Regions from separate parts of the Homo sapiens genome. Here all the other regions are linked to region 1. The links are contacts of gene promoters, found by promoter capture Hi-C in blood cells and fetal thymus (Javierre and others, 2016). All regions are on one chromosome and are shown on one strand. The core of a region is centred on a gene start or on the middle of the fragment in contact, and the rest is flanking DNA. Distances in the headings are between cores, read along the strand shown.

The links. The method cuts DNA at HindIII sites, captures the fragments that hold promoters and counts their contacts. A CHiCAGO score of 5 or more calls a contact.
Region 2: a contact is called between a fragment that was not itself captured here and the fragment with the promoter of DYNC2H1 in region 1, in 2 of 17 cell types (total CD4 T cells and naive CD8 T cells). The highest score is 5.4, in total CD4 T cells.
Region 3: a contact is called between a fragment that was not itself captured here and the fragment with the promoter of DYNC2H1 in region 1, in 1 of 17 cell types (total CD8 T cells). The highest score is 5.1, in total CD8 T cells.
Region 4: a fragment that was not itself captured here is called in contact with the fragment with the promoter of DYNC2H1 in region 1 in 4 of 17 cell types (non-activated CD4 T cells, total CD4 T cells, total CD8 T cells and 1 more); the score reaches 11.5 in non-activated CD4 T cells.

The regions. Positions count from the first base shown.
Region 1 is chr11:103,106,756-103,114,554 of GRCh38, forward strand. It overlaps DYNC2H1 (dynein cytoplasmic 2 heavy chain 1), which reads left to right and starts at 2,671. Exons shown (of 89, transcript NM_001377.3): 1 at 2,671-3,014; 2 at 6,782-6,952; 3 at 7,348-7,483. The coding sequence starts at 2,820. RefSeq lists enhancers at 2,264-2,383, 2,454-2,503. The HindIII fragment of the contact is 957 bases long and covers 2,246-3,202 here.
Region 2 is chr11:105,037,233-105,045,031 of GRCh38, forward strand. CARD16 (caspase recruitment domain family member 16) reads right to left here. Exons shown (of 4, transcript NM_052889.4): 2 at 7,160-7,426; 3 at 6,251-6,313; 4 at 4,331-4,487. The coding sequence ends at 6,294. Among named protein-coding and RNA genes, the nearest start is that of CARD16, 4.2 kb to the right of the region's middle. The HindIII fragment of the contact is 323 bases long and covers 4,421-4,743 here.
Region 3 is chr11:104,701,710-104,709,508 of GRCh38, forward strand. No RefSeq gene overlaps it. Among named protein-coding and RNA genes, the nearest start is that of LINC02552, 96 kb to the left of the region's middle. RefSeq lists enhancers at 3,972-4,101, 4,112-4,231. The HindIII fragment of the contact is 471 bases long and covers 3,113-3,583 here.
Region 4 is chr11:101,902,784-101,910,582 of GRCh38, forward strand. ANGPTL5 (angiopoietin like 5) reads right to left here. Exons shown (of 9, transcript NM_178127.5): 2 at 5,031-5,218; 3 at 4,320-4,464; 4 at 2,961-3,064; 5 at 2,031-2,124. The coding sequence starts at 5,126. Among named protein-coding and RNA genes, the nearest start is that of CEP126, 8.3 kb to the right of the region's middle. The HindIII fragment of the contact is 831 bases long and covers 4,550-5,380 here.

The DNA.
Region 1 (7,799 bases), core at 1,421-3,920:
CAGACTCCCGAGTAGCTGGAATTACAGGTGTGCGCCACTGTGCCCGGCTAATTTTTGAATTTTTAGTAGAGACGGGGTTTCACCATATTGGCCAGGCTGGTCTCAAACTCCTGACCTCATGATCTGCCCGCCTCAGCCTCCCAAAGTGCTGGGATTACAGGCGAGAGCCACTGTGCCTGGCAGTAATTTTTTAAAGTATAAAAATAATTGTTTAAAGTATAAAGTATAAAAAGGTCACCAAAAAGTTTGGGAAATGGCATATAGGACAAAATTAGGAAACCCTGTCTCAGAAAGTTTTGGGCCTTCCCCTTCAGCTCACGTTACCTGTTTTTATGCCACCTGCCAGACAACTGCTAAGACAATGCTCCACATTAAAAAAAAAAATCATTACTACACTATGGATATCAATTACTCTTTTGGTTAGAGTAGCCTAAATTGCCATAAAAATAGCCCACACAGTTTAATGTACAATGCCTCAAACACAACAAAGCTTATTTCTTGCTTATTTAACAACTGCAGACATTATTCCACTCTGTGATTCAGGATCCTAGGGTCCTACTCTTGGAAAGTTTTGCCATCCCTGTTGCTTTATTGTTATCTGCAACCAGCTGGCAAAAGTTAAGGTATTCTCACTTCTTTAAAACTTTGCCTTGAAGACGCACACATTACTTCTTCTCACATTTTATTGGTGAGAATTAGTCACATGACCACACCTGGATGGTAGCCACTTCTTAGCTATGGAAGGGAAAAATAGATTTTGGTGGATATCTGGCTAACACTGTGATATGGTATATAGAGATTGGCTCAGAATTGGATTTTGGTAGGAATCTTGGTTCTACCACTTACCATCTCTGTGTTTTTGTGTAAGTTATTTAATCTGTGAGGTTCTTTCTTCTTTATTGTATGCTTGATACAATACATAAAGTCCGTATCTGTCTTTTCTTCCCACTCTGTGCCTCATTTTTCGTATATAGTAGTGAAAAGGAAACACAAAACTTCTATTTCATGGGGTTTACATGTCAACGGGAGCTTCCATGTTTGAGATCGGTGTTAAACTTGATTCAAACACAATTTCATAGTTTGTGGAAGCCCTAAGTTTCCTGAAGAGTTCTAAAAATTCTTGGGAGGATCACATACTCATGATCTCATCTGCTTTCTAGACTCATCTTCCTACATGTGTTGCCTTTTTATTTACCATATTGTTATGGAAGCTCAATTCAGCCATTTCATACATTTCCACCAAAACAACTCACCAAACCGAGCACTTGTGGGTAATGGAGACTTTCCTGAAGACCTTGGTAAGAGTGATAATGCTCATTGCAGAGCAGGAAACTCTGTAACCATAGTGGTCACTTTGGCTTTCAAAATCTTTTTATTAGCTACACAGTCATCTTGGGTTCCTGTTAGGATTTTTTCCCTCACCCAGTGGTCAGCATCCCACCTCACTGTTTGGATGTTTTCCCATCCAGTGGCCAGACTCCCATCTCTCACTGTTTGGATATTTCATGAGAATTTACATTCATTTCCTTTTATAATTTAGAGCAGTTCAGCTTTTTTAAGTTCCCACTCCAAAATCTTAAGTTGCTCAGCAAATAAAAGGACTCTCTCCTTCCAATTCTCAAATAGTATAGTTTTAAGGGGAGGTTATGATTATTAAGTGCAAACAAAAAAAATCTGCATATGTTTGTGTACCCTAGGATCTTGGGTCAAACCAGTGCTGAGGTGATGAATGACTACAGCAAAAACTTCCTGAGGGCAGGAACTGTGTCCCCAGGGCCTAGTTCGGTACTTGGCAAATTGTGTTAGATTGGTGCAAAAGTAATTACAGTTCTTGCCAAAAAACCGCAATTACGTTTGCACCAACCTAATAGCATGTAGTAAATATTTTTAGAAGAGAATTACTGAATTGAGAAAGTGTTTGACGAATGTTCGGATGAATGACCAGCAATTTAGTAGTTTATAGTAATGCCATGAAGTAGAAAATGACAAAGACCGTTTTCATATCTGTATTTTCACAGAATTTGGTTGCGGTTGTTATAAAATAAACTAAAAAGTATCATTTTACATTTTAGCTATTTTACAAATATGGTTGTGCTCGGGTAATGATTGCAATAAAAAATTGCTGGTTAAATTATTCTAAAATTAATAATAGAAAAAACGATGTTGGGAAATGCAGCAGCACAGAAAGGAGCAGAGGGCGACTGAGAAAGTAAATTAACATTGTATTGAATTCCTAGTCTTTATAAGCTTCTCTAAAAAGCGATTTTTAAATAGTAATCTTTTACAATCCGCACTACACCCCTGGTTGTGAGATAGTATTTCCCCTTCTTAACAGATGTGTACCTTGACGCTGACAGACTGGTTTGCTACCAGGTGCACGTGGAGAGCGAGCACTGGAACCCAGCTCTCCTAAATCTAGATCACGCTGCTGTACTTGAAGGCTAGATGTCTCTCTTCTGATTATGCGTGATAAGAAATCAGTAAGAAGAATAAAAGACATGTTTGAGAGCCAACATAAACTTGTCCGAACCCCTTACAATCGATGACCGCAGGGAGCCGCTGAAGAGCTCCGAGGCGGTCGATAGCCTCCGCGAGCTTTGCGTGCGCGTGCCCCGAGAGGGCAACGCCCACCGCGCGCCGCCAGCGACGCCGCCGTAGTGCTCCGTCGCCATAGCGACTACCCCTGGCAACCGCGAAGCTCTGCGGTCCCGCGGTCGGGCTACGGGTTTGAGCAAAGCTCCTCTCTTCCCTTCACTTCCCTCCGGACTGGTTTCTTCTTCCTTCCCCCTTCCCCCAACTTCCCTCCACCCCTTCCAATCATGGCGAACGGGACTGCGGACGTTCGGAAGCTCTTCATCTTCACTACTACCCAGAATTACTTCGGGTTGATGTCTGAACTCTGGGATCAGCCACTGTTGTGCAACTGTCTTGAAATCAACAACTTCTTGGATGACGGCAACCAGATGCTCCTCAGGGTGCAGCGATCCGACGCAGGAATCTCCTTTTCCAACACGGTACGGTTCCTTGCACTCCTGCCTGACCCCTGACCACTCTTCAAGTCCCCAGGCCCAGCCAGAGGGACGTCGGGTCACACTCTTTAGCTTTACCAACCAGATCCTTTTCAGGAACCCAAGGCTGTCTCCACTTCTCCTGCATTATTGGCTTAGATGCGTTGGCCTCGTGCTTAAGCAGGTAGTTTCCAAGCTTTGCATCCTACCTGACCGAAGCATGTTTCCCTTCCATACATCTGAATAGAAGCAATTAGATTGTGTTTTATTTTAAATTTTTATACGGAGTTTCGTTCTGTCGCTTAGGCTGGATGGAGTGTAGTGGCGCGATCTCTGCTCACTGCGTCCTCCACCTCCTGAGTTCAAGCGATTCTCGTGCCTCAGCCTCCCGAGTAGCAGGCGCGCGCCGCCACGCCTGGCTAATTTTTGTATTTTCAGTAGAGACGGGGGTTTCACCACGTTGGCCATGTGGGTCTCCATCTCCTGACCTCAAGTGATCCGGCCTCCCAAAGTGCTGGGATTGCAAGCATGAGCCACCGCGCCCGGCCTATATTCTACTTTTTAAGAAAGACTGCAGATACGTTATAACTAAAAAGAAAACATTTACTTAGTTATTTTTATTTTTTTCTCTCCCCTTTTTGAGTTTTTTTTTTGGGGGGAAGGCAAATTCTAGTCTATCTTTTTTGGATCAGGCTCTGATTTTAACATTGCCCAAGGGAAAGATTAGTTAGGAATTTAAATTTTTGTGAAATGATATATTTCAAAATAAAGTTTGAATTCTTTTTTGGTGTACATCATGTGATATACTGATTTATTAATTGCACTGCTCCCTCCACTGGCAGGATTGCTTAAAAAATGGGTTGCATTTGCAATCAGGGCTTATATATATAAGCCTAAAAGAAAAACACAGAAGAAAATTGCCTGACACATTAAAGGGGACTCAGTAAATAGATTTAAGTTAATAAAACAAAGACATATTTTAAACCTCTTCCTTTGGTGTTCACCCTTATCCCTAGGTCTAGCAGAGTTTTTGACACTCAGCAAAAACATTCAGTGCCTTTTTTTTTTTTTTTAGACGCAGTTCGCAGTTTCGCTCGTATTACCCAGGCTGGAGTGCAATGGCACAATCTTGGCTCACTGCAACCTCTGCCTCCCGGGTTCAAGCGATTCTCCTGCCACAGCCTCCCAAGTAGCTGGGATTACAGGGCATGTGCCACCACACCCAGCTAATTTTTTGCAATTAGTAGAAATGGGGTTTCACCATGTTGGTCAGGCTGGTCTCGAACTCCTGACCTCAGGTGATCCACCCGCCTTGGCCTCCCAAAGTGCTGGGATTACAGGTGTGTGCCACCGTGCCTGGCTTCAGTGCATTTTTATAGGATGATTGAATCATTCACCCTATTCACTATCTTTATTCTTAGGTTTAATTCGATTGTATTTAATAAACATTTACTTTGAACTCAGTACATGCAAGGCACTTTGCCAGGCATGATGGGTTTACAAAGATATAAAAAGGATGGATAATCATAGCTAACATTTATTTTCACTTTAGACTCTGTCAAGCACTGTTCTAAGTACTTTATATGTATTCGTTCATTTAATAGCCATAACGACATTGTAAGATAGGAACTATTCTTTTTCTTATTTTATGGCTGAGGAAAGTAAGGGACAAAATTTACAACCTAAATGTTAACTTTTCTTTTTCTCCAATAGGTAGCGTAGTTCAGGATAGAGCCCCCTGCTTTCTGCCTTTCCTAGACTCACTCCAGTGGCTTAGGATGACATATACTCAGCAAATGATAAAATCAGGACACACTGTTGTAAATGCCACTGAAAGTTCGGATAGAATGCAGTAGGAAAGATGGAAAGGGGTTTGGATTCGTGAAAGTGTATCTTGGCTTGGGTATTTGAAAGTTGAAGGTAGAACTTTTTTTTTTTAAGTTAAAGCTATTACTAGTAAAGCCCAACGATGTATCTGTTATTTTTAGTTGTACACTTCGCTACAGGTTTTTAGTCATATTTGAAAATATTTTGTTATGTCTTCAGTTGTACTTTAGTTGCCTGATAGTTAGCGTGATTCAATAAGTTAATAAGTCAGCAAATATTTATTGCCTACCTACTAGTACTGGGGACAAAGCCATGAACACAGAGTCCGTATCTTAAAGGAGTAACATTGGAATGGACAAAGGTAGGCTAAACGCATGCTACAGATATATGTAACATAATTTTGGGTATTGATAAGTGCCGTTAAGATAAAAATAATGTTATAGTAGTGATGGGGCAGCGTGGGGAACTAAAGATATATAGGGTGGGAGATAATCCCTCTCTGGATTAGTTATCTTTGAAGCGAGATTTGAATGATGAGTTGCAGGCAGGCATAACCTGGGGGAAGAGTGTTCTAAGCAAAAGAAACTGTAAGTACCAAGGCCCTGAGCTGGGTTTTAACTTAGTTTCCAGGGGCAAGAAAAAAAATCCAGAGTGATTGCTGGAGTTTATGGTATGAAGGAACATTGTGGTAGATGAGAAAGGAGAATAAGGCACAGGCTGATCATTTAGGACACTGTATACCATTTAAATTGAAATAGGAAGTTATTGGTAATCTTAAGCAAGAGAGAGCTGTGATCTGGTTTATGCTTTAGGACAGAGGTTGGCAAAAAGTTTTCTGTAACGGGTCAGATAATATTGCAGGCAACAAGGGCTCCATTAGCAGCTACAACTTGGCCTTTGTAGTGTGAAAGCAGACATGTAATACTTTGTAATAATACATGTAATTGAATGGGAATGGCTATGTTCTAATAAAACTTTATGGACACTGACATGTGGATTTCATATACTTTTCATGTGTCATGAAATGTTATAAGCATTTGAGCAGTAACAAAGTTTCAGCTCCTTTCCAGTGGCCAAAAATGTAATTATTTGGATAGAAATAAGTGGCATGAGACCCATAGCTGTTCTTCCTACACAGCAGTGACCTTGTCTGAAAGCTTTTTAATGTGTAGACTTCTTTTCCTGAAAAAAGAAATGAGAATAACTGAGAATGTGTGTATAATGCAAAAACTTCCTTTGACTAGTATAGTTCTCAGCTAATGAACTCATTACTATGAACTGACCTATTTTAAACAAGATTGCTGTAGTGAATTCCAATTGAGTTCATCTGGTTCCGATTTAAAATAATCTAGCTATATGACAATTTAACAAAGTTTTATGCTCTTAACTCTTTAAGGAAAAATTTTCAGTTAAGATAAAGTTAATTTCAGGAGATAGACAACTTAAGTTCATTTTGGTAGTTTTGAGTGCATGTATAATTTTAAAAGCACCTTTTAAAATGCTTTTTCTAAGTAAGAGGGTAATTAATTACATTTTGTTATAGACTTTCTGGGTTACTAGAGAAGCACACTACTCATTGTGTACCTGGAGCCTACAGCTTTCATCTGTACTATTACTGATTCTGGCTAGAATGGACTCTGGCTGGAATGGAATCTGGCTGGAATGGAATCTGACTGGAATGGAATAGTTAGCAGTCAACAACGTATATATTGTTTTATGTTTATAAATAACTTATCAAAGTGACTTTATGATCTAATGTAAGTGGGAATAAGTTTTTAAACTGAAGTATTCTTAAGGAAAGAAGAGATAAATTGGTTTTAATATATTTATTTTTAAAGTAACTATTTTTTTCCAAGAGGTATAATTATAGTGATAGAACTTTGTCTACATTTTTTTCAAATATTAAATTTTATGAAGATAACATTAAAAATCATTTATCACTTTAGATTGAGTTTGGTGACACAAAAGATAAAGTGCTGGTGTTTTTCAAGCTGCGACCTGAAGTAATTACTGATGAGAATCTACATGATAACATTCTTGTTTCATCTATGTTAGAGTCACCTATTAGTTCTCTTTACCAAGCAGTACGGCAAGTATTCGCACCAATGTTGTTAAAGGTGAGAAAAGAAGCTGTCATTTTTTTTAACTGAGGTATTTGGATAAATGTTTTCATATAAACATAAATATCTATTTTTTACTGTTAATGTTAGTAGTGTTTTAATTTTAATTAAAATATCTTTTCTTAACTTTTTTTAACTTAAATTTTAATGTAAGTTGTGGTAAAAAATAGAGAAATTGGAGAAAGGTATAAAATGCAATCCACATCAACTCAACATTTCTACATTAAATGCTTTTCATAGTTTTAACTGTTGAGAGGACTTTTTATTCTTCTTATGAAGTGGAGGTAGTGGCAGGCTTTAAGAAAAATGGGGTTTTGGACAGTGTTTTGGGAAGCCAATTTGATTAGCAAAATTTTGATCAATCTTGGTTGCTCTTGTCTGTTTTTATTTAGGATCAGGAATGGAGCAGAAACTTTGATCCCAAACTTCAGAATCTTTTGAGTGAACTAGAAGCTGGGTTGGGTATAGTTCTACGAAGATCAGACACTAACTTAACAAAATTGAAATTTAAGGAAGATGACACACGAGGTATATAACCATAGCTTAATAAAAGAGAGTACAAAATGATTGTCTCATTAATACATTAGTAAATGAACATATTTCTTCATAGATTTCTTCAAATACTTTTGGAATTTCTCTGAGCATAGGTTTTAAAAAATGAGTAGATTTATGTGGATGTAGAGAAGAGGAAAATATAATTGTTAATAATGTGCAATCTAGCTTGAGCCTCCAGAGTAGCTAGAACTACAGGTGCATACCACTATCCGCTGGCTAATTTATTTTAGTTCTTGTAGAGATGGGGTCTTGCTGTATTGCCCAGGCTGGTGTCAAACTACTGGCCTCA
Region 2 (7,799 bases), core at 3,332-5,831, 1.9 Mb after region 1:
GCAGCCAGATGATGTGCTGGGAAAGCAAAACCCACTTTCTAAGGAGAAATTCAAGCCAACTGTAGAAATTTGCAGAAGTAACGAGGAGCCAAATGTTAATCTCTAAGACATTAATCTCCAAGACAATGGGGAATATGTCTCCAGAGTATGTCAGAGACCTTCCAGGCAGCCCCTCCTATCACAGGACTGGAGACCTAAGAGGGAAAAAAATGTTTTCATGAGGTAAGCCGAGGGCCCTTCTGCTGTATGCAGCCTAAAGGCTTAGTGCCCTTCTTCCCGGGCCACTGAAGCCATGGCTAAAAGGGGCCAAGAAATAGCTTGGGCTGTGACTTCAAAGGGTGCAAGCCCCAAGCCTTGGCAGCTTCCATGTGGTGTGGAGCCTGTAGGGGCACAGAAGTCAAGAATTGAGGTTTGGGAACCTCTGTCTAGATTTCAGAGGATGTATGGAAATGCTTGTATGTCCAGGCAGAAGTTTGCTGCAGGGGTGGGACCCTCATGAAGAACTTCTACTAGGGCAATGCAGAAGGGAAATGTGGGGTGTGAGCTCCCACACAGAGTCCTCACTGGGGCACTGCCTAGTGGAGCCATGAGAAAAGGGCCACCATCCTCCAGATCCTAAAATGGTAGATCCACAAACGGCTTGCACCATGCACCTGGAATACTCAGGCACTCAATGCCAACCCATGAAAGCAGCTAGGAGGGATGCTGTACACTGCAAAGCCACGAGGGTGGAGCTGCCCAAGGCCATGGGACCCCGACTCTTGCATCAGCATGACCGAGATATGAGACATGGAGTCAAAGATCATTTTGAAGCTTTAAGATTTGGCTGCCCTACTGGATATTGGACTCGCATGGGGAATGTAGCCCCTTCCTTTGGCCAATTTCTCCCATTTGGAATGGGTGTATTTACCCAATGCCTGTATCCCCGTTGTATCTAGGAAGTAACTAACTTGCTTTTGATTTTACAGGCTCATAGGTGGAAGGGACTTGCCTTGTCTTAGAGAAGACTTTGGACTTGGACTTTTGGGTTAATGCTGGAATGAGTGAAGACTTTGAGGAACAGTTGGAAGGCAGGATTGGTTTTGAAATGTGAGCACATGACATTTAGGAGAGGCCAGGGGCAGAATGACAGAGTTTGGCTCTGTGTCCCCACCAAAACCTCACCTTAAATTGTAATAATCCCCTGGTGTCATGGGAGGCACCTGGTGGGAGGTAATTGAATCATGGAGGTGGGTTTTTCCCATGTTGTTCTCATGATAGTGAAAAAGTCTCATGAGATCTGATGGCTTCATAAAGGGGAGTTCCCCTGCACATGCCTTTTTGTCTGCTTCCATGGAAGATGTGTCCTTGCTCCTCTTTTGCCTTCCACCATGATTGTGAGGCTTCCCCAGCCATGTGGAACTATGAGCCCATTAAACCTCTTTTTTTCTTTATAAATACCCAGTCTTGGGTATGTCTTTATTAGCAGCATGAGAACAGACTAATACACCTGGTATGTAATATGTAACTGGAATATTCAGACTGTTCAAATGTAGCAAGTGATGAGAATGATAAAAAAAAAATTGGCAAAGTAGGAGACAAAATATTGCAGGACTCATGAACTTTAGACAGAGGAGCCAGGGAAGGCCAGAAAAGGTCTCTGCCTTTGCAATCACATGTTCAATTGCTTATCCCAGAAACAAACTCAATGTGGCTAATTTATTTTATAAATCTATTTGATGAAAGGTGGGCTAATTGCAAAATGCACACGGTATGTTACGTTTATCAAATTCTTTACCAAAAATTCTCCTGATTTGTTACCTTAATATTTTTGGAGATTAAAGACCCAGAGTTAGAAAAACATCCACCTTTTGACATGTGGGCTACCAGTTTTATTTTCTGTGCTCTAGGTGAAGGGTTAAATGTGTTTGGGTTTGACTAGAACTCACTGTGTAGGAGGACATCGTTTTTTTTTTTTATTTTTTATTTTTTGACAGAGTCTCGCACTGTCACCCCACTGGAGTGCAATGGTGCCATCTCCGCCTCCCGGGTTCATGTGATTCTCCTGCCTCAGCCTCCCAAGTAGCTGGAATTACAGGCACCACCACACCTGGCTAATTTTTTGTATTTTTACTAGAGATGGGGTTTCACTATGTTCACCAGACTGGTCTCAAACTCCTGACCTCGTAATCTGGCCACCTTGGCCTCCCAAAGTGCTGGGATTATAGATGTGAGCCACCATGCCCAACCTCTCATGGTGTTTTATCTTTACTTTGCCAATGACTTAATCCGATGGCAGCACAAACTTGTGCTCCTTGCCACTGGGAGGATTTGTAGCATGGAAGAAAGCAGAAATTGCCTGTGTATTACTTATCTTCCCATCATGTACTTTTAAATGATTCAATTTTTTTTCTATTAACTAAAGTATTTCACATGAGGGTTTCGCCCACAGCCAGAGCCATGAACCACTGAGTTGAAGCATGTCAGAGTGACATCCCAGAAACAGAAGCCATGACTAGACCATATATCTGGGAATGTAGAACCATAAGCCTTGAGTCTCATGTCATGGAAAGCTAAACACTGAGCCACTAGATTGCAAGGGCCCACTGTTTCCTCAAAAATGAAGATGTCAAAAACTGGAAACAAATAAATATCCAATTCCAGAGCATAAAATAACAATTTGTGCTATACATGTACACTGAAATGCTATTCAGTCATGAAAGGGAAAAATTACTAATATATGCAATAACATGGATGAAAAAAATATGTTTCAATTATGAGTGAAAGAAGCCATATAGGAAGGAACACATACCCTGTGATTCCAATTATATAAAGTTCTAGATTAGGAAAAACTAACGTACAGTGATAGAAATTCGATGACTACTTATCTGAGGAGGAAGTGGAAGGAGATTGATAACAATGGGCGTGACAAAACTTTCTGGGGTGACAAAATCGGTTTGCCTATTCACTAGGATGTTATTATACTAGAATAGCCATGTATCATTAGTTATCAACTTGTATTCTTAAAAGGAGTACATTTTCTTTGACGTAAATTATACAAAAATAACATTAAAATTTTGAAGCGAAAATGGTCAGTGGTTGTAATAATATATATTTTTTTGTTGATTTCTGGCTGGACACACTCCACAAATTTGTAAAAATTTTGGTAAGAGGAAGTTGTTCTTATAGTGACTGAGTTGTAATTACCAACCACCCAAGTTGGATGGGGAATTGTAGACAGAGTGGATATAATTTATAGGAACCAAATTGTTGACTTAAATGTGTACTTGGAAAATAGAATTACAAAGGTAAAATCATCTCAAAATAAATGAATGTAACAATTCTATTATAAGTAATATTTTAAATGTGCATAATGTTATAAAATCCTGTCAGTGTGAAGTCTGGGAAACAATATAATTTTAAATGACAGAGTAGGTACTGTAAAAATCTCTGACATAGAAGGCAGACAATTCTGTGCTTGGGTTTTGGCCATCCCATTTCCAAGCCTTAGAAGTTCATGGACACTTTCAGTTTATCCAACTCTTCTTAGTTATATTTTTGGACTATCAGCACATTTTGTGTAATACAACTTAGAGCACTAATCAACTATTACATGTTATTTTATTTTTTCTTTGTCTAAAAGCCTCTTTCTTTCTGCCCGGTTTATCAGTGTGGACTTTGGCATCTAATAGCCCTAGGGTCAACTTCTATTTATGAGCTGTAGATCTTAACCAAGTTATTTAACATCTCCCATCCTCCGTGTTCTCATGTATAGGAGGGGCCTCATTATCATTCTTACCTTCTAAGATGCAATGCCTGGTGTAGAGAGCATGCCACTATACCTCTCATTTATAGTAGTCATAAGCTATAGCCCAGAAGCAAGGTAATGTTAAAATGTACTTTTTGGTAAAGTGCTTCTAAATTATTCATATGCTTCATTTCAATATGTTAAATAAACATTAATTTCATTTTATGAATAGGAACAACAGGTAAAAAACTGACTCCAATTCTTGGTAAACACAAGTTGGAGAATTGGGTGAGAAGCAAGAGTCCACTTCAATACTTGCTCAATGGGATGTGCTTTTTTCCAACTGGGCACTACACTGGAAAATCTGGGTTATACAAGCAGACAAAATGGCTTGTTTGTGTCAGTGGGAAATAAATTCTAAGAGACAGACTGGGTGAAGACTATGATAATTTATGAGTTCCAGTTTGCAACTCTTTACCTAAACCTGGGATTCTAGGATATAGAGATCCTTTATGCAAGGGGAGCAGAAGTATGTTCCTCCAGAACCGCTCAATAAAATTGGTTCTAAGAAAAAGCCACTGCATTTCAAAACTGCCTGAAGTATATCTTTCACTCCACTTTATTATTGTATTCTGAACATGGCACCTCTGCAACTTTTGTTTCCATATCCTTTGAGCGTCTTCTAGAAAGCAAAGCTTGATTCTGCCTTCTGGGCTTGAGCATGTGGGCATAGCTGGGTTGTCCTGCACTGCCTGAAGAGCTGCAAGAGACAAGGAATATCATGAACAGTGGTATCCCTCTTTGTTCTTATAGCCTCACCTATGGAGGAAGCTACAAAAGAGGAAATACATTCCTAGAGGACAATCCTAATCTAGTCATTAACATAGTTGAGTGCGTTTGCTGCTAATGGAGCACATTTCAAGCCAGAGATTTCTAGGTATGCATTACAGGGAGGATCTACTTTCATATTTGAGCATAAGTATTTCTACAAGCATCTTAGATAAAAACAGAGAGGAAGCTTTTCAAGGCCATGCATGATAAAACACTCAGGAAACAGTCAATGAGTGATATAAAATAGTTAAAATATGATTTGTTTTCAAAGGATTCAAACCCTAGGATAAAATTTAATGGGAGCAGGTCTTAATTAACACTAATTAATTTTTAAAATATGTGTTTATCCTTTTATTTATTTACCTAATAGACATGGTAGTAAACACTGGGAATATTTTTTTAATGATCCCTTTTCCTGTCCTTCAGCATCTCCTCCTACAATGTATACATATGGGAGGACAAGAATATTGAATACGTAAACTAGAATAAATATAAAATAGAACGATGAATGCTAAAATCATGGTGTGCTCTAGATGGATTCATAGCACTAAACATTGCTTTCACGAACATATGAGGAAATGTTTTCACAGAGTTTATGTGAGAAAATCTTTGAGGCTTTTATTTCATCACAAGATCAACACAATCTGACAATGTGATGCACTTGTTAAAAAATTAATGTGATGTTTGTTTCAAGATAGAACTGAGGTTTCTAGATATCCAGAGGATCTTTTAGAAACTATTAAGGCAAAATAATAATATTTAATTTTGCAAACAAATTTGAAAAACTGCTATACAATCAGATAAACAAAGGCAGCATGAAGTGTGTTGACATGGAGAAGAACTAATTAGAATGATTATATTGGAGAAAACTATAAAATAATAATTTAGTAGAAGAAATGTTTGGTTTCTTTGTAAGGATTTGTGAAAGCAATAGAGAAAAACTAAAGAAAAGCATTTGAGTTATTTTTGAGAATACAGTATTTGGTTATATAGTGAGTATCCCATGCTGTGAAACATTTAAGAAAACATTCATGAGGTAATCATCCTTAATAAATTCAGTAGAGTAATATCTGAACTTGATAAAAACATGCATTTCTAGCCTCTAAATTGCTTTCAAATATAAGTTTCTTTTATTTTAAGGGGGGCACTTAAGGAATAAGAGTTCTTTAATAAAATAATAGAAGTAAGAATGAAGAGACATTTCCAAATTTGAGAGAAGAATGCATAAAACTTGGCCATGGCTTGAATATTGGAGGTGCATGAGAGGAAGGGGGCCAAGATGAGTTTCAAGTTCCTGGATTGAACAACTGGTGATGGTGGCATCAAAAACCAAGTTACACAAAACTGTAAGAGAAGCAGGGTGGGGAAGAATGGCATGTTCAGCTCTGAAATTGTTTACATAAATGTGTCTCTGGAAGATGTGAGGGAATATTTCAGTAGTCTTAAATGATGAAGTTTGGTACTTATTTGGGTAATCAGAATTTGAGATACAAATTCAGATTTTGTTAGTATAAATAAGAGTAGTAAAGCTTTGGGAACAGTTTCTGCAAAAACAGAATAGATTAAAAAAGAAAATTATATGATCAGTCTATGGGAATTCTCCATAGCCCCTTCAAGCAGAGCTCATTCCACTAAATTAATGTTAAAGAAGATGGGGTTCAAAGAATGCTCTTCATTGAAAAACAACATTACCTGGGAAGGAAGAAAATAGTAATTGGGAGTCTTGTGTACTAAGCTAATTTCCAGGTATCGGACCTATAAAAAGATGAAGAACATTGAAATAGCCACTTATCATCTCTGGAAAACTTTACAGCAATGCATAAGCCACTCCTCACTGCAAATTCCTCCCACAACCCTGACTAAATGACAATAAATAATGTTCAAGTGCACCAAAACTCCCATCCTCACCATGCTGTAGGTTCAAGGGATTATAAGAATGGGCAAGCTCATTTCCTGAGCACTGTATCAGGCCCTAGGAGGGCTGCAGATGATGGAAGTCCAGGCCTCCCAGTATGATCTGCAGCTTGGCAACAGACAAGCAGATCTTACTCAAAAGAAAATGCATGGGGGCAACGGGAGGAAAGAGCCCTGTTGAAATCTTTACTATTCTGTAATCATTGAATGTATTTCCTGAACGTATCATCGTCACTTAAATATACTTTATTCTTCTCTGAGGGCAAAAGTTTGAAAAGAATTTATAAAAAGTATTTGAATACAGACCCTAAAGCTCATGTCAAACAACTACATAAGGGCTTAGGGACACCCTGGACACAAAATAATAAATCAATCAATAAATATCGTGCCTTGCCAGGAACACTGGAACATATTGTATGAAGCTTTCTAGATAGTTCTCATGACCTTAAGGAAATTAGCTACCATGTACTCAGAACAGAAAATGAACTTTAATCAGAAGAGGGCACTGAGGATGAAGGAACACAAAAAAGAGTCAAGGGACATGCAATAGGGCCTCTGCTACAGAAATATGGCCCAAAGGCAGAGATAAGAAGATATTCTGCAGATTAACATGACTAGTAAAGAAATCAAATGTTAGGCACGAAGACAGGCCCTAGGTGAACTTGAGTGTGAGTCACTGACCCTTACCTGCTGAGAGTCCCAGCGTCTCTGCCAGGTAACTGTCTTCTTCACAAATGTATGTGATGCAAATTTGGCATGCCTGTGCCCCTTTCGGAATAACGGAGTCAATCAAAGCTCGGGTCTTATCCATAACTGTAGCATTTTCACGTTTTACTTTCTCCATCTCTTCCTGGTTCAGCACCCTTGTCTGTAATAATTCATCCAGTAAGCCATTTATTGTACCTTCACCCATGGAATGGATAAACAGCTTTCTCTTCTCCTTCAGGACCTTGTCTGTTTGGAGCACAAGGATTTCTCACATCATGAAAACAGCCTCATATTCCTCTCACGTCATCAACAGAAAGTGACCTCATTTAGATTTCATCAGTGAAATGTCCCCCTCCTCACAGTTGGGTAATCCCTCTTCTTACTGTATTGCTGTCCTACTTGTTTCCCTCAGTAGTCCCCATATATGTGCATGGAGTGACCTGAAGACTGAGTTTACCATTTCCACATCAGTCCCTGGAAAGCAGAGATCATCCTCTTGTGTCCCATGTTTATTTAACTCTGAATAATAAAGTAATGAAGCAGAAATAGCCCATTTCATTTAGGAACCACTGCTGCTAGTACTCCTCCTGTGCCAATTCTGTACCCTCTGTCAGACTTA
Region 3 (7,799 bases), core at 2,098-4,597, 1.6 Mb after region 1:
ACTTTTATCAAAGGTGCTTTAAGCCTACTGATACCTATGGGAAAATGATTCATTAAAATATTAATGGACTAATGTAATACTTTGTAATTTTTCCTGAGGTGTAATAGGAACAGTATGGACTTAGAGTCACTTTCTCAACACAGAGTTAAACCCTATCTCTGTCTCTTTCAAGCCGTGTCGTTTTGACAAGTGCTGTAGGAAAAACATCACCTACCTCATAAAGTTGTTTTGAAGATTAAAGTAGACCATGTATAAAATATACTGCTCAAAGTACACCATACATGTAGATCACTAAGATAAAATTCTCCAAAACATTCATAAATTTAGAAAGTCTAAATAACTTGTTTTCTAATGCTATCGTAGATTTTAAAATTTTAACTTTTTTTCCTGTTTTCTGCTAGTATATAAAAATACAGTTGGTTTTGGCATATTAACCTTATCTGTAGTGACTATGTTTAGTCCATTTATTAGGCCTAGTAGCTGTTTTTAGATAGTTTAAGATTTTTTTACATAAACAGACTTCTAGTATGATGTTGAATAGAAGTGGTGATAATGGTAATCATTGATTTGTTTCTGATCTCATTGGGAAAGAGTTCAATAATTTGCCATTAAGTACACAGTCAACTGCAGGTTTTTCATAGGTTCCCTTTATCAGATTGAAGAAATTCCCCTCCAATCTTACTCTACGCAAAATTCTTCTTAGGTATCAGTATTGAATTTTGTCAATTGCTTTTTATGCATCTATTAGGATAATCATATGGCTTATCTTTTCTATTCTATTAATATGATGAATTATACTGATTGATTTTTGAGAGTTAAAACAGCTTTTTGTTCTTTAGATAAAGCCTCCTGGGAATGATGTATTATCCTTTTCATATATTACTGCTGAAAATTTACACGAGACGGATTTTCTTTTGGATAAAGCTATTTCACAAGTATATGTATTTGCTGCAGATTATATGTTAATTTCAAGCTTGAGATAACTCATTGTCCCTCATGTAACCTCTTTTTTTTTTTTTTTTTCTTCTTAAATCCCACTGACATTTTGTCTACAACATGGATTTGTTTCTGTCAGGTAACTTAAGAACTTCCATATATAACTTTCTACATGCATAGAAAACTTCACTTTGAAATTGTTTGTGTTGACATCAGGGAATTAAATTCATTTCAGGTGCTATTGTAGGCCAAATTACAGGTTTTGAGTTTATAAAGATACCTCTGACTGAGTAATGCCACCTGATAATGTGGAGCTTTAAGAGCGTTGTTTGACTTTTTAATTGAGGTTATGGCTTATTTGTGTGCTTTACATTTTTTATTAATAATACAAATTATTTATTGTCATCTGATGATATAAGTAAACATACATTTCACTTACACATTTTAATCAACTTACATGATGAGCCAAATATCGTTTGGCTAATAAAAAAAAACCTAACCAAAACATAAATTTTCACTAAAGATATAAGATTATATTCTGGTTATTCAAAAAGAAATGTTTCTTTGGATTCATTATTAACCAAAATTGGATAGGCTATTCATCAAGCATGTATTGAACGTATATTATATATAACACAATGGAATGAGACCTCTAAGGAAATAAACAATGGAAAAAAATTAAAGCACACCTTAAGGTGTTACGTTTTGTTTTGCTTTTAATTAATTATTTTTCCAGAGCAGTTTTAGGTTTACAATAAAATCAAGCAGAAGGCACAGGATTTTCCATACAACCTTGGTACCTATGCATGCTTAGCCTTTCCCATTATCAATATCCCCCACCAGAGTGGTCCATTTGTTATAATCCATGAATCAACATTGAAACATTATATCCCCCAGACTCCATAGTTCACATTAGGGTTGACTCTTGATGTTGTGCATTCTGTGAGTTGGGACAAATGGTGGACATGTAGCCACCATTCTAGTTCCATACAGAATAGTTCACTCTCCTAACAGTGTTTTTAACACACCCATCTCAAAGTATAACTTCCAAATGGGTAAAAGCATGACTCATGAATATATAAAATGTACACATGTCAAAAATTGTATTCTAGTTCTTAATTAACAAAGGAACAAGTAAGTTTTTTTTGTTTTTGTTTTGTTTTGTTATGAGACAGTCTCACTCTGTTGCCCAGGCTGGAGTGCAATGGTGTGATCTCCGCTCACTGCAACCTCTGCCTCCTGGCTTCAAGAGATTCTCCTGCCTCAGCCTCTCCAGTAGCTGGGATTACAGGTGCACACCACCATGCCTGGCTAATTTTTGTATTTTTAGTAGAGATGGGGTTTCACCATGTTGGCCAGGCTGGTCTTGAACTCCTGACCTCATGATCCGCCCGTCTCGGCCTCCCAAGGTGCTGGGATTACAGGTGTGAGTCACCGCGCCGGGCCTAATAAGAAGTTTTAATTGATATAAAGAACATTTGAAAAGTAATTATTTGTAAGTAATATTATTTGAGATCACCAGGTTAGAGACAAAACTCATAGAAAGGGATATAAAATTTTGGAATTGTATATCGTACAAGAGAGAAATTAATTTCATCTTTCTAAAAAAGTCTACAAGTTAAAGTCTAATTTTTAAAAAATCAGTTTAAAAGTCTAACTTCCCTTTCTTAAGTCTTAGACCTTGGGTAAATAGTGAGGTAATCATGTACATTCCCATAAATGATGTTTTGCTTTCATGGGACACTGAAAAAATGTGCTATTCACATTTTTTCTTATTTTCAAGGTTTAGATAATTTTTCTAACATAGATAAAAGCAATGTATACATATTATAGTTACATAGTACTTTACTCTGAAAAGCATTTAAAGTGAAGTTTTATGAAATGTTCAGAAAAGGAAAATACATTTCAACTTGGCCTTCAGGGATTCTCAGCTAGGAATTGGCAGAGATGGAAAGTGGATGGAGAAGAGATCAGAAAAAAAGGAGAGAGCTGATTTGAAGGCACAAAAGCCAGAAAGCATAGTTGTATTTTGCAATAGAAAGGACTCCAGTTTGCTTACATTGCTGGATGCATGGAAGAGAACAGCAGGCTATAAAGGCCGAGAAGATGGTTTGAGTCTGGATTGTGCCAGGCTAAAGGATTTTGACTTTTTTTGTTAGGCAATAGGGATCCCTAAAGCTTTTAGAGTCTGGATAAGGAAGATAGATCTGCTCAATAAGAAGGATGAACTAACAATAGAGTCTTTTCTAGGATGCTACTGAAGGAATTGAGAGACAGAATATACAAATGAGTGAAAGCCAGACCATATAGAAAAATAGAACCCTAACCCACAATTTGCAGCTACCAGCACAGGATGCCAGCTTGCTACACATCTGACTTGTAGGAAGTCAGAATGTTATCTCTAATAATAAATCCAGGAAGCCAAACAATAACTCCTATTACAATTGACCCCAAATGACCAGGCCTTGATTAATAACTGACAACTTTAATAATTTTTGTCCCTGCTTCCAACTTAGGACCAACTAGAGAAAGCCAGTTATACACCTCTAACCAATTCCATCGATGCTTCACTTCTAGTTAGCCACCCCACAACAACAGCCTCCAATCAGGGAATAATAGTTGAAGCCTTTCCTCTTCTCAACTATGAAGCTTCCCTACTTTTCTGCTGCACTTTGAGTCTGCCAAAATGCAAGCAATGATGGCTGATTCCTTTGCAATTAAAAACTCTGAATAAATAAACTTTGCTTGTTCTCATTCAGATGGTCTTTGTTTACTTCCATAAAATACACTACCATTAAAACTAAGGATTCTTTTTTAACTAACAGCTTTATCAAGACACATGAATCTGTCCAGTCAATATAAATTGGATCTCCTAGTGTGCCAGGCAGTGTCAGGCAGTAAAAATGTAAGCATATACACTCTTGCCCTCGGAAAGCCTTTACACTGTGTAGGATAGAAACAAGTAAATATACATCATACACTGTCAAATACAAAACTGAACCCAAGTTAAAATTAACACAGGCTGATTATTCATAAATGTGCAGGAAGAGAACCCATCTGTCATCACTTTCATTTCAGCAGAGGTACAAGGATGTTAGAAATGAGAGTAAATTTTACCTGGTAAAAAAGAAAAAAATGCTGAAAGCGTCTCTAATTGGTGAGCATTACATTAAAGTGGGATGTGGAAGCAGAGACTTATTCAGGTATATTTGAGATTAGTTGGTGTGCTGGAACTAGGTGAGCCGGCATTTTCAGAATATTTCAAAACAGGAAGTCTTATTCAATGTTAGAGACTGAAGATTTTCTGTGGCTGGCCATTTCCAGGAACAAGTCTAGCTGACGGGGTGCTTTTGTGTGGTGTGTCTGTCATAATGGTCCTTAATGGAGGCAGAGGAGCTGGTATGGCAGGAAGTTTCTCACCACAGTATACTAAGTAATGAGTTTCTGTTAGTTTTATGTAGAGAGATCTGAATTTACAGATGAGATAATGTTGGTACTGCTGGATTGGCATTACAAAAATATGAAACTGCAAAAGTGGCTGCCCCCAAGATATCTGAAGACCAATTTATTTAAATTAAAAACAATTTATGGGCTTTTATGTGTGTGTGTGTGTATGTGTGTGTGTATATATATATGTGAAATTTTCAAGAACACAGCCTACACATAAAGCAGTACTGCAGACTGTCAGTCTATAAGCTAAAATTTTGTTTATTTATATTGGCTAGTGCTAAAAAATGGAATTTTCATGCTGTTAACAGTGACCTGTTTCCCATAGTCACTACTGTTGACACATCCTTATACCAGTGTATTTCACATATCCACATTAACTAAAAAGGCTTTGGGCTTGCAAGTGTTGAAGAAATATAATTAAAAACAAAATATTCTCTCAACCCAGAAATTATCCACAAAGACAGTAGAGAAAGAGAACACTTTTATTATTGAAAAAGCATTACACCATAATATGATGCACATCACAGGAAATCCATTAAGAGATTGCAAAGACAGAAAGGAATCTCTACCCCTTATATAATCAAGTAACCCATTACATACATTTTTCAAGATGAACAATAACTAGTTGTCAAGTAAGAGGACTGACAGCACCTTTTGTCACACAGTTCATCCTAACTTTACCTTGTAATTGGGGTGACCATCTGTGTTAGCATATTGGCTATATCGAGAGAGACAAACAAACAATCAAAACCATATACCTTTATGATAGAACATAGCTTTAGCTTTGCAAATTGGAGCAAGGTGCCCACAAAAGTTAGATTATTATCCTTCCACAGAAACTGGGAGATAGGAGCACTGTCTTCCTTTATGTTAACATTTATATTAGTCTGTTCTCATGCTGTTATGGAGAAATACCTGATGCTGGGTAATTTATAAAAAAAGGAGGTTTAATTGGCTCACAGTTCTGCATTGCTGAGGAGGCCTCAGGAAAGATACAATCATGGTGGAAGGCAAAGGAGAAGCAGGCACCTTCTTCACAGGGCAGCAGGATGGAGTGAGTGCAAGCAGGGGAAATGCCAGATGCTATAAAACCATCAGATCTCCTGAGACTCACTCATTATCATGAGAACAGCATGGCGGAAAACCACCCCCATGAGCCAATTACCTCCACCTGGTCCCGCCCTTGATAGGTGGGGATTATGGTGATTACAATTCAAGGTGAAATTTGGGTGGGGACACAGAGCCAAACCATATCAGCGTTTCAAAAAGATGGCTTCCAAGCTCTGAAAGGTATTCCTGAGTCATAAAGTTGACAAAAGACCTATCTAGTTTTCAAAATAATTTCTGTACATTTCGAAGAGAGGAGAATGTACTTACAATGATAAGGTTTCTAAAGTAAATGCTCTAATAAAAATGAGGATGAAGAAGTCCCTTTCTTTATCTCAATGGGGGAATTAAGTCTCTTATTTTTAATTTTTATTTATTCAAAAGTACCCCAACAAATTCACCTGAATTGCCCCCTCCAAAATGAAGTAGCTTAAGATGACATTTTAAAAATAATTCTCTTTAACAATGACAGTTGCTGGCATTTGTGTAGTGATTCTATGAACCAGTTTTAGGGAATTAAGAAACTTCCTAAATGCAGATTTTAGGGCCTTTGGTCATAGAAACCAATTAAAAAGACCTGGGATTCAGTTCAAATAGTTTCCTTCTTATCAAATTCTTTCAAGGCCATTTTGAGTCTTGTTATCCCTTGCCACTCCTTAAGAAATACCACCTATGACTACACAACCTCAGTGAAATAATAACCTCACCTAATTGCTTTTGAAATTTGCCTAATGGCTTTTGGGTCACCCTTAGGCTACTTGTTTATCCCAAACAATTAATAATTTCTAATTATGCCTGTAGTCACCTTTTTTATTTTGGCAAATGAAGTATTCCCTCTTCCATAACTGAGTGATTATCATGGCGTCAGTAATTCAGAGCATCCCCATACTGGACTCATATAAATTGCACCACAATGATGTAGCTTAAATATATTTTGAATAAGACATTAATTTTTTAAATATCTCATCACCATTATATTTAATTTATAAGCCAAAAAGAAGACTAAAACTAATGAAAATTGACAGTTAAATTTGAAATATATCTGTGACCTACTGCTATGTTCAATACATAAGCAAGTCCCAGACTTTTTTTAGTAATCAATCTTTCAGTTAATTTCCTCTTTATAGCACTACACTAGACCCCTAAGGCATGGCTAACTATCTTCAACTTAAGCGCTTCAGGCAATAAGTAGCAAAATTACTAACACAATTATGATGATTAAAGTGTTCATTTAAAAATGGTGACACCTACTTATAAGCAGCATAAGTGACAATAACTTTTTTAGTTATTTAAATTGTACAGCTGTAGCTTTAGAATTAACATAACCTGCATTGAGTAATTTGTTAAAATATTTTAGTAAGATAATAAGCTAAATTAACATAAATATTTAAGGTAAAGAGAATGCTTTAAGTCATTCTCTCAGAATAAAAGTAATTATATTTCCTTTAGAAACATGTTTTATTCACATGTTAATGTATTATTAATTCTTGGAGAAAGGCTTTCAATTATTCACTTTTTGTTTTTATTTGTTGTGATGATTTTTTACAGAACTTAGTGGAATAGAGAAATGTTTCTGCAAAGCATGTCTGGTCTATAGAAAAATAACAATTAGTATTGATTTTTATTGGGACGAACACCTGTAGTTTAAGGAAAACATGATATAATTCCTGTAGGTTATAATTCTATTTGGTTAGCTTAGCTCTTTCTTCAGTTTTCTATTCCTAGTGCCAATCCCCTGCAGCCATTGTCCCCCCAGAATAATACAGAATAGGAAACATACTGTTCTACCTGATCCATACCTATCTCCTTCAAGCTCTTCAAACATTTTAACCAGGTAGTACATTGCTGCTTCCTTCCCCCACAAAAAGGCCCATAGCCAGATGCATTGGTGCATACCTGTAGCCCCAACCACTCCAGAGGGTGGCAGGAGGATTACTTGAGGCCAGAAGTAGTGCACTATGACCACATGTGTGAATAGCAACTGTACTCCACCCTGTGCAACATAGCAGGAACTTGTCAAAAAAAAAAAAAAAAAAAAAAAAGCCAACGCTTGACCTTTCTAGCCCCTTCTCCACTACTTTCTATCTGTCCTCATCTAGACAGTTCAATTCAATTCTCTGTTAACTAAATACCATTTTCTTTTCCTGCCACCTTGTCTTTGGTTGTGATTTTGTTGGTGTTTCTTCCTGGAAGGTTCTCACACATTCTTCATCTAGCTTCCTCTCTTGCTAAACAATACTAATACCTATATTTCAACACCTAGGCAAATACTACCTATTCCCAAATACCTTTGCCTCCATAGCCAG
Region 4 (7,799 bases), core at 3,715-6,214, 1.2 Mb before region 1:
CTATAGAGAATTGATAGTGCTATTATCATAATTTTCATTATTATATTATTTTAACTTCTTCAAAATGAAAAATGGTCACAATTTTAGAAATAAAAAGAAAATATAAGGGATTAAAGAATTTATGCTGCAATAAGCCTTCACTTATAATGTCACTGTTAGTGATTAGTTTCCTATACTATTTAAAAGTTTCATTTGGGATCAACACTTATTAAACATATTTTATAATTACACATTCTCTTTACCAATAAATAATGCCATTTCAGAAATTTAGGTTTATCTTAGAGAATGTAATGTGTAAAGGAAATCTACATGAATAGGGAGGAGAAAACCAAAAGGAATAAGTAGATTAACCACTACAGACACATATTTCACTATTCTATTCCCAACTTCAGAGACTGATGTGTTTGGGACCACTAATACAAGTAGCCAAAGGAAGAAAGGGGAAAATCACTTTCTTCCCCAAGAAATTATGCCTGATGTTAGAGCCTACTCTGTTAACAACAGTTAGAATTATAGCACCCCATAATCACCTTCTCCAAAGCACTCATCTCCCCAGGATTGTAAACACGTGTATGTGGATATGGATATTACATTTTCTGGAAGATACTCTACTCTGTAGCATCTTTTATAAGTGAAATAAATTCAACCCTTAGAGCGTCCATTATCCAAATGCCCATCTTAACATCCTAGTTCTACTCCTAACACTTTACTTCATAGTGTTATCCTAACTATTTACGTAGTAAGGTATTACATAAAGCCTTTACCATAGTGCCCAGCACACCCAAATAATGAAGAAAATGCCATCTACAAAAAGTTAGCTATAAAAAGTCACTTGTTTTCCCCTTCGTCTCTGGGAGACATAGATTTGTTGTTGCCTGTATCCTTAATTGTTAAGAGATATTCTTATAATGACTTTATGCTCAGAGACATGAAAGAAGTTCACGCTGAAGGACCGATCTGGGTTGGAGTGTCTGCTATGTCATTACCTTTCAAATTAATGTGAACAGATTATTTCGATTTTTCTGGGCTGGATATTTCTTATCTGATGATGATGATCATAGCAAGCAAGCCCTTATATTGTTCTGCCTGTGATTCGGGCATTTTTTTTATTTCCTTGTGATAAACATTTGATTCGGGCAATATTTTAAGAGACTTTCCTGTATTTATTCACTTAATCCTCACATCAACTGTAAGAGGTAGGTACTATCAGTTTACTGATGAGAAAACATATCAAGAGAGCAGCAAGCAAGAAATTTGAAACCAAGGAGTCTGACATCAGAGTCCATGCTCCTGACTACCACATTATGCCTGCTTTGGGGCAGTTATGAGATATAATAAAATAATTTTAATAACAAAATAATGTGAGAAAGTGCCTGTCTTCCTACCTATCACATAGAAGATTTTTAGGCACTGTTTATTGTCTTCTTTTTCGAAGAAGGACATAAAGATCATGTTCTAGGCCCTCAATAATATTTATTTGCTTTAAACATTTGGGGATAAATTCATATTTATAAGATTTATAGGGTATTTTTCTTAGAAGTCCAAACCTCTAGGAATTAATATGCTGTATTTTAGTATAAAAAGTGCTAACTTTCAGTTTATTCTTGTCTTACATTTCTTTTTCTTTTCAAATTTTATGCCCCAATTTGAAACATTTCAAACATGTCAAAAACATTTTTTACAGGTGGGAGGAACTTTGAAACTTTCTTTTCTTCTATCTGAAGATGAATTATTAATAAGATATAAACTGGGAGTCCAGAACAAAGCTATAGAAAGCTATGTTATTTTCAACAGCTTCAGGATATCTTTATACAGCCATGGCTTTCACATGGTTGAAAAAGTTTCCCATTTTAAGAAAGTACACGTTGTCTATGGTGAAATTTGCTTAATAGCAGGTATTAGCCCTCCAGTCTGTTAGAGAACGGTGAGCTGTAGTTTTTAAATAAAACTTTTAAATGGATCGACCTGTCCAGGAAAATTTTAAGCAATAAAAGACAAACATGAAAAGGCTGAAATACCAAAGTTCTCACCATGTGACTGAACAGGTCTGTGAGGAAAAGGATCCAGCTGTTTTCTAAAAACTTCTGTAGTCAAAAGGAGAACTCTATTCATGAGCTCGTTAACCTAAACACATGCATACACATTTAAGTAAATTTATATTTGAAGAAATTGCCATCTCTAAGCCTCTCATAAACCCAGCTCTGAAATACGTAATGGTGCCCATTTTTCTAGATTGATTTCTTACTGCTTTAACAAAGAATAAAGGCAAAGCTAAATAGCAATCATTAAATTTCGTAGTATCTACCTCCTTAACGTTGATTTTATCTGCCCCGATTTCTGCATTTGGCTGCTCTTGCACATCTGCCCTTCATACCTTGTCCAAACCATTGCTGTAGTTTCTTACCTCCTCCTTTGGCTCTTCCTCAAGTCATTGGCCACACAAGTTAATCAGATTGTGGCATTTCCTTGCTTAAACACTACAGTGGCTCCTTGGTGTGGTATGACTTCGTTCTTGCCTATTCCTATAGTCAGTTTTCCTTAAATACTCAACCTCACCAGCCACTCCACCCTGTACCAACACCAAGAAGTTTCCCCAGAATGGAATGTCCTCTTCGCCTTACCCAACCTTTATGATTTTTAAAACATTTATTCATCCTTCATGACTGTTAACAGACTTTCTCCTCTGGGAAGCTTTTTGTATCTGAGAGTTCTCTTTTGTGCCATTCTAGCAACCACATTTTTGTCAACACATTTTAATGCTCCACTAGACCATACCCCTTGAATTAAGTTCGATTTTTTTACTGCTTTTTGTTTGCCTAAAGTTTACTATGGTGCCTCTAACATGGTAGGCGCTAAATAGATGTCTGAACATGAATGCATTTTAAAAAAAGATTATACCTCCAGCTAACTATACATCAACGTGTACATGCAATAACAACACAATACTAAAACATCTATACCTGATTAGATAAATAATCCAAGGAAGCTTGTTGCTCATCCATCATATTCCTTAGTAGTTTTTTGGTACTTCTTGTGTAGGAAACAATAGAATTTTGCAAATTTCCTTAACCATAATAAAAAGTGGCTGTTAAATATTATATTGTTACAGAAAACAATTACAGTGAAAAATAGTGAATTTTACCTGATTTTGGATATGTATGTTAACTCAATACTATCTCAATTTATCTTAATACTCAGAATTACATATTTTAGTTAGTATATCTTTTGTTTAACTCAGGATTAACCCCAGAAATGATTGTCTCAATACTTCTTAATGAAACTATGCTTCCTACTAATATAGATTACCCAGAATAATTAATCTGTTATCATTAAGAGACAGTGTTCTGATTATAAATTCTCACTTTATAAGATGAGATATATAGAGGCAGGAGTTATAGGATTCATCAATTCTTACTGTAAAAGAAAGTTAGTGGTGACAGTTTTATACCAGGCAAGTTAATTTTAAAAAGTACATCTTTGTTTTAATTTTTCTATTAATACTATATTTACACAATTAAATTGCTAGCACATACATATACATACACATAATAAATGTTAGTCAAAGGTTTTGGTTATTTGGTTTCTGACTAAACATTTACTATACATTTTCCTTTTAAAAATGTTTTTATCTTAAGAGAAAATTTCTTATAGCGAAGTTGCGATAACAGTACAAATAACTTTTTCCTAATGCCTTTGAGACCATGTTGCCATGATGTACCGTCATGCTATTTCAGTGTATATTTCTTACACCAAAGACATTTCTAATAACATACCACCAAAATTAGGAAATAAACATTCACTACCTATATTTCTCAGACCCTATGTGAGTTTTACCCAAGATAGTAATAATGTTGCCCCCTATAACAAAAGGGCCCACACACTATTACGTATGTTATTCTTTAAAATTTTATTTTCTAACTTTCTTTCCACCAGCAGTAGAATCACATTAAAAAATCTTGATATTTTTAATTCTACCTCACTCTGCTTCCTCTCTCTTTCTTATTTTCAGTCTGTCACTTTCTATTAGCTTTTTCCTGAATTTAGCCATCTGTCTTAATAGGTCTAAAGCTGCACTCATTGGTTTGAGAAGCCTGAGACCCTTTTGTTGCACACAGAATTAGCTACATAGAGAAAGGATCCATTCATTTACCAAATATTTATTAAGCACCTATTATGGGCCAAACAATAAAGCTTCTGGCCTAGGATGATCAGGATGTATAGAAAATGACCCAGACAAAAGCTAAAGTATACTTTTCAGTGTCTACCCTAAAAATAATGAATCATATACTCTTATTATTTTGTTTATTTTTAATACTTACTACACATGAAATGTTTTTCTTCTCGTGTAATTTTAGTTTTAACATCACATGATTCCTCACAGTCTTCCTTACAAACAGTATCATTACTTTTACTTTCATCTTTTGCATTAGATCCATCTTCTACAATGTTAACTACTGAAGAGTCCTTTATATTAAAAAATAGAAATAAGAAAAAAATACATTAAACATGTTATATGACCTAATACATAATAAAAAAGACTATAGAGAAAAGCTTAGATTTCAGGAAAGACAAGGCTGATCATTAGAGAGAAATATAAGCTATTTAATTCAAACTTCCACAAATAAACCTGATGAGTAAATAAAATCAAACGGACCAATTTCTTAATTTCCTGGGTAGCCACTCACAGGACAATATTTGAAATATGAAAGTTTGTGGAACAGCTTTTTTTTTAAGCAAAGTGATTTTTTACTACCTATCAGATATTTCATTGAAAAGTTGTGGGCTAGTTTTTAATCTAGGCCTGAAATGTCTTCAAAATATTTTCATATCTGTTGAATCAATCCTCAGTTTATAGTTTCCTCAGTTTAAATACAGTAATATTAAAGCAATTTTCAACATTTCTAAATACATGTTTTAATTGTTCCATAAATTATATTTGGTAGTTATGATTAATCTTTTCAAAATTCTAATATATATCTTGAAAGCTAATCATGCTTTCCTAGCTAATATAATATTGCTAAAATTCTTACCGTAGAATGATGTACACAGTTACCTTGTACAGCTTCTCCACAAATAAAAATACATACATTTAAGAATAAGAGTGAGGCTTGGGATGGAGACATCATATTTTTCTTGGATAGATGAAAACACTTCTTCAAATATCAGTCAGCTCTTTGTGGAAAGAACTACAGAGCATAGAGTCTTCAGTTAAAAACCTCTGGAAAGCGTACAACAAAAACATAAGCCAAAACTTACTAGTTTCCATGCCCTGGTTTGAAACAACACCCTTCATATGAAAAACAAAGTAGCCTCTGGAGATCCTGACATTTTAAATTGTACAATTCCTTTTTTATCACTTCATGTCTGTATTATAAATCCAAGCTTTTGCAATATAGGCAACAAATAGATAAATAAGTAAATAAATAAATAAATGACAGATGTAGACAGATAAATAAAGCATGAATTTATAAATTCATCTAATTTTTGTGAGTCAGCCTTTTCTTGCCTTGGGAAAAAAAATGGCTTTGATAAGCTATACATCAATAATTGCAAACTGCTTGCAAAAAAATAGGAAGTAGAAATGACTGATGGAGTGGGAAAAATATTACCTTGGAACTATTTCTATAAAATGCTAAGTAGAAATTTGATCGAGGTGGACATCCAGAGCAGATAATTCAGACTTAAAATATACTTTTAAAATGCCAAATCTCAACGCTGGGCGCAGTGGCTCACGCCTGTAATCCCAACACTTTGGGAGGCTGAGGTAGGTGGATCACCTGAGGTCAGGAGTTCAAGACCAGCCTGGTCAACATGGCGAAACCTCGTCTCTACTAAAAAATACAAAAATTAGCCGGGCGTTGTAGCAGGTGCCTGTAATCCCAGCTGCTAGGGAGGCTGAGGCAGGGAGAATCGCTTGAACCTGGGAGGCAGAGGTTGCAGTGAGCCGAGATCACGCCACTGCACTCCAGCCTGGGCGAAAGAGTGAGACTCCATCTCAAAAAAAAAAAAAAAAAAAATTGCAAATTTCTAAGACTGTAATTAATCTGTAATTAGTTGTAATCTAATTACAACTATTTTGTTAAAACTGTAAAAATTCTGAACATCAGAGAAATAATATTATTGAAAATGACCACTCTTTGAAGGTTGATAGATGAATGTCTTCAAATTTTCCCTTTCAATGTCTCCTTCCCTTCATTCTACACACATGCCTAAGTCTTCATTATTCTAAAATTAAGAGGCAAAGCAAAACTTTCCTGCATCTTCCTTCTGGTTCGAGACATTATTTTCTCCATCTCCTTTCCTAACCTGAGAACTGCCATAGTTTTTATGGTACTAGTACAATGACTGATACACAAGAGGCACTCAAATATTTTCTTAATGAAGAAACAGCTTAAAATAATTATCTGTTCTCTGACTTTCCTTCCTCACCACCTACTATTTAAACCCAAACAATCATATCTCTTATTTGTGGCAATCACTTTCTCAGAGTTTCTCCAGTGAGACAGTATGAGATGGTTGGGAGTGCCGGCTCCAAGACCAGATTGCCTGATTTAAAGATTAGTTTCAACACTCCCTTACCCTGGAATCTTGGACAAAGTTACTAATATTGCTATAGCTTGATTACCTCCTTTGTATTATGGAAATTGTTGTATGGATTAAAAGATATGTAACATTGCGGACAATATTGATGACTTTTATAATTTATATTAATAGGCAAATACACATATTGTAATCTTAAATTTCTAGTTGAAGTCTTACAAAATTCAAGTGAAAATGGCAGAACTTCAGCAGAAGTTGGCAGAACTTTAAATCAGCCAGATGTTAAAATTCTTTGTTCTTTCACATCTTGCCCAGAGACCAATTCAGGAAATTCTTATTTGAGCAAGAAAATACTTCAGTGGAAGATGGAAAAAAAAAAATAGCCTCAGCCAAGACAAAAGTGAAAGCACAAAAAAATTGTCCATCACAGCTGCCACATGGTTATAATACTTGTTAAATTAAATAAGCAGGAGGCCATTGCCTGAGGCTGTCTCTGTACTTTGAGTTCCTCTGTAGCAAACTGCAGCCTGACTTAGGAGTATATTTTTTGTAACAAATAGTGGAGTTTCAGCCAATCATAGGCAGCCAACTAATCAGAGTATACCCAAATAAGATAAACACCTAGCTGTAGGCAATCACATGATTCCTCTACTTTGTTTCTGTGTCCAACAAAATCTTGCTGCTCATGCTGCTGGGTGGAGCTCTCTGAACTTCTTGTTCTGGGTGCTGCCCAATTCGTAAATCATTCTTTGCTCAAATAAATTCTGTTTATTTTCTGTTCTAAAGATACTAAAAATAATATTCAGGCTGGGCGCGGTGGCTCACGCCTGTAATCCCAGCACTTTGGGAGGCTGAGGCGGGCGGATTACCTGAGGTTGGGAGTTTGAGGCCAGCCTGACCAACAAGGAGAAACCCTGTCTCTACTAAAAATACAAAATTAGCTGGGCGTGGTGGCGCATGCCTGTAATCCCAGCTACTCAGGAGCCTGAGGCAGGAGGATTGCTTGAACCCGGGAGGTAGAGGTTGTGGTGAGCCGAGATCATGCCATTGCACTCCAGCCTGAACAACAAGAGCAAAACTCCGTCTCAAAAAAAAAAAAAAATATATATATATATATATATATTCAAATTAGATAAGTTATGTGAATATGCTTTATAACCATAAAGTGGTTATTATTAGTTTCCTTTGTAAATAAAACATCAACGATTTATGAGACCACATTAATGAAATTGCATGTCTAATAGACATCTCACATTTAA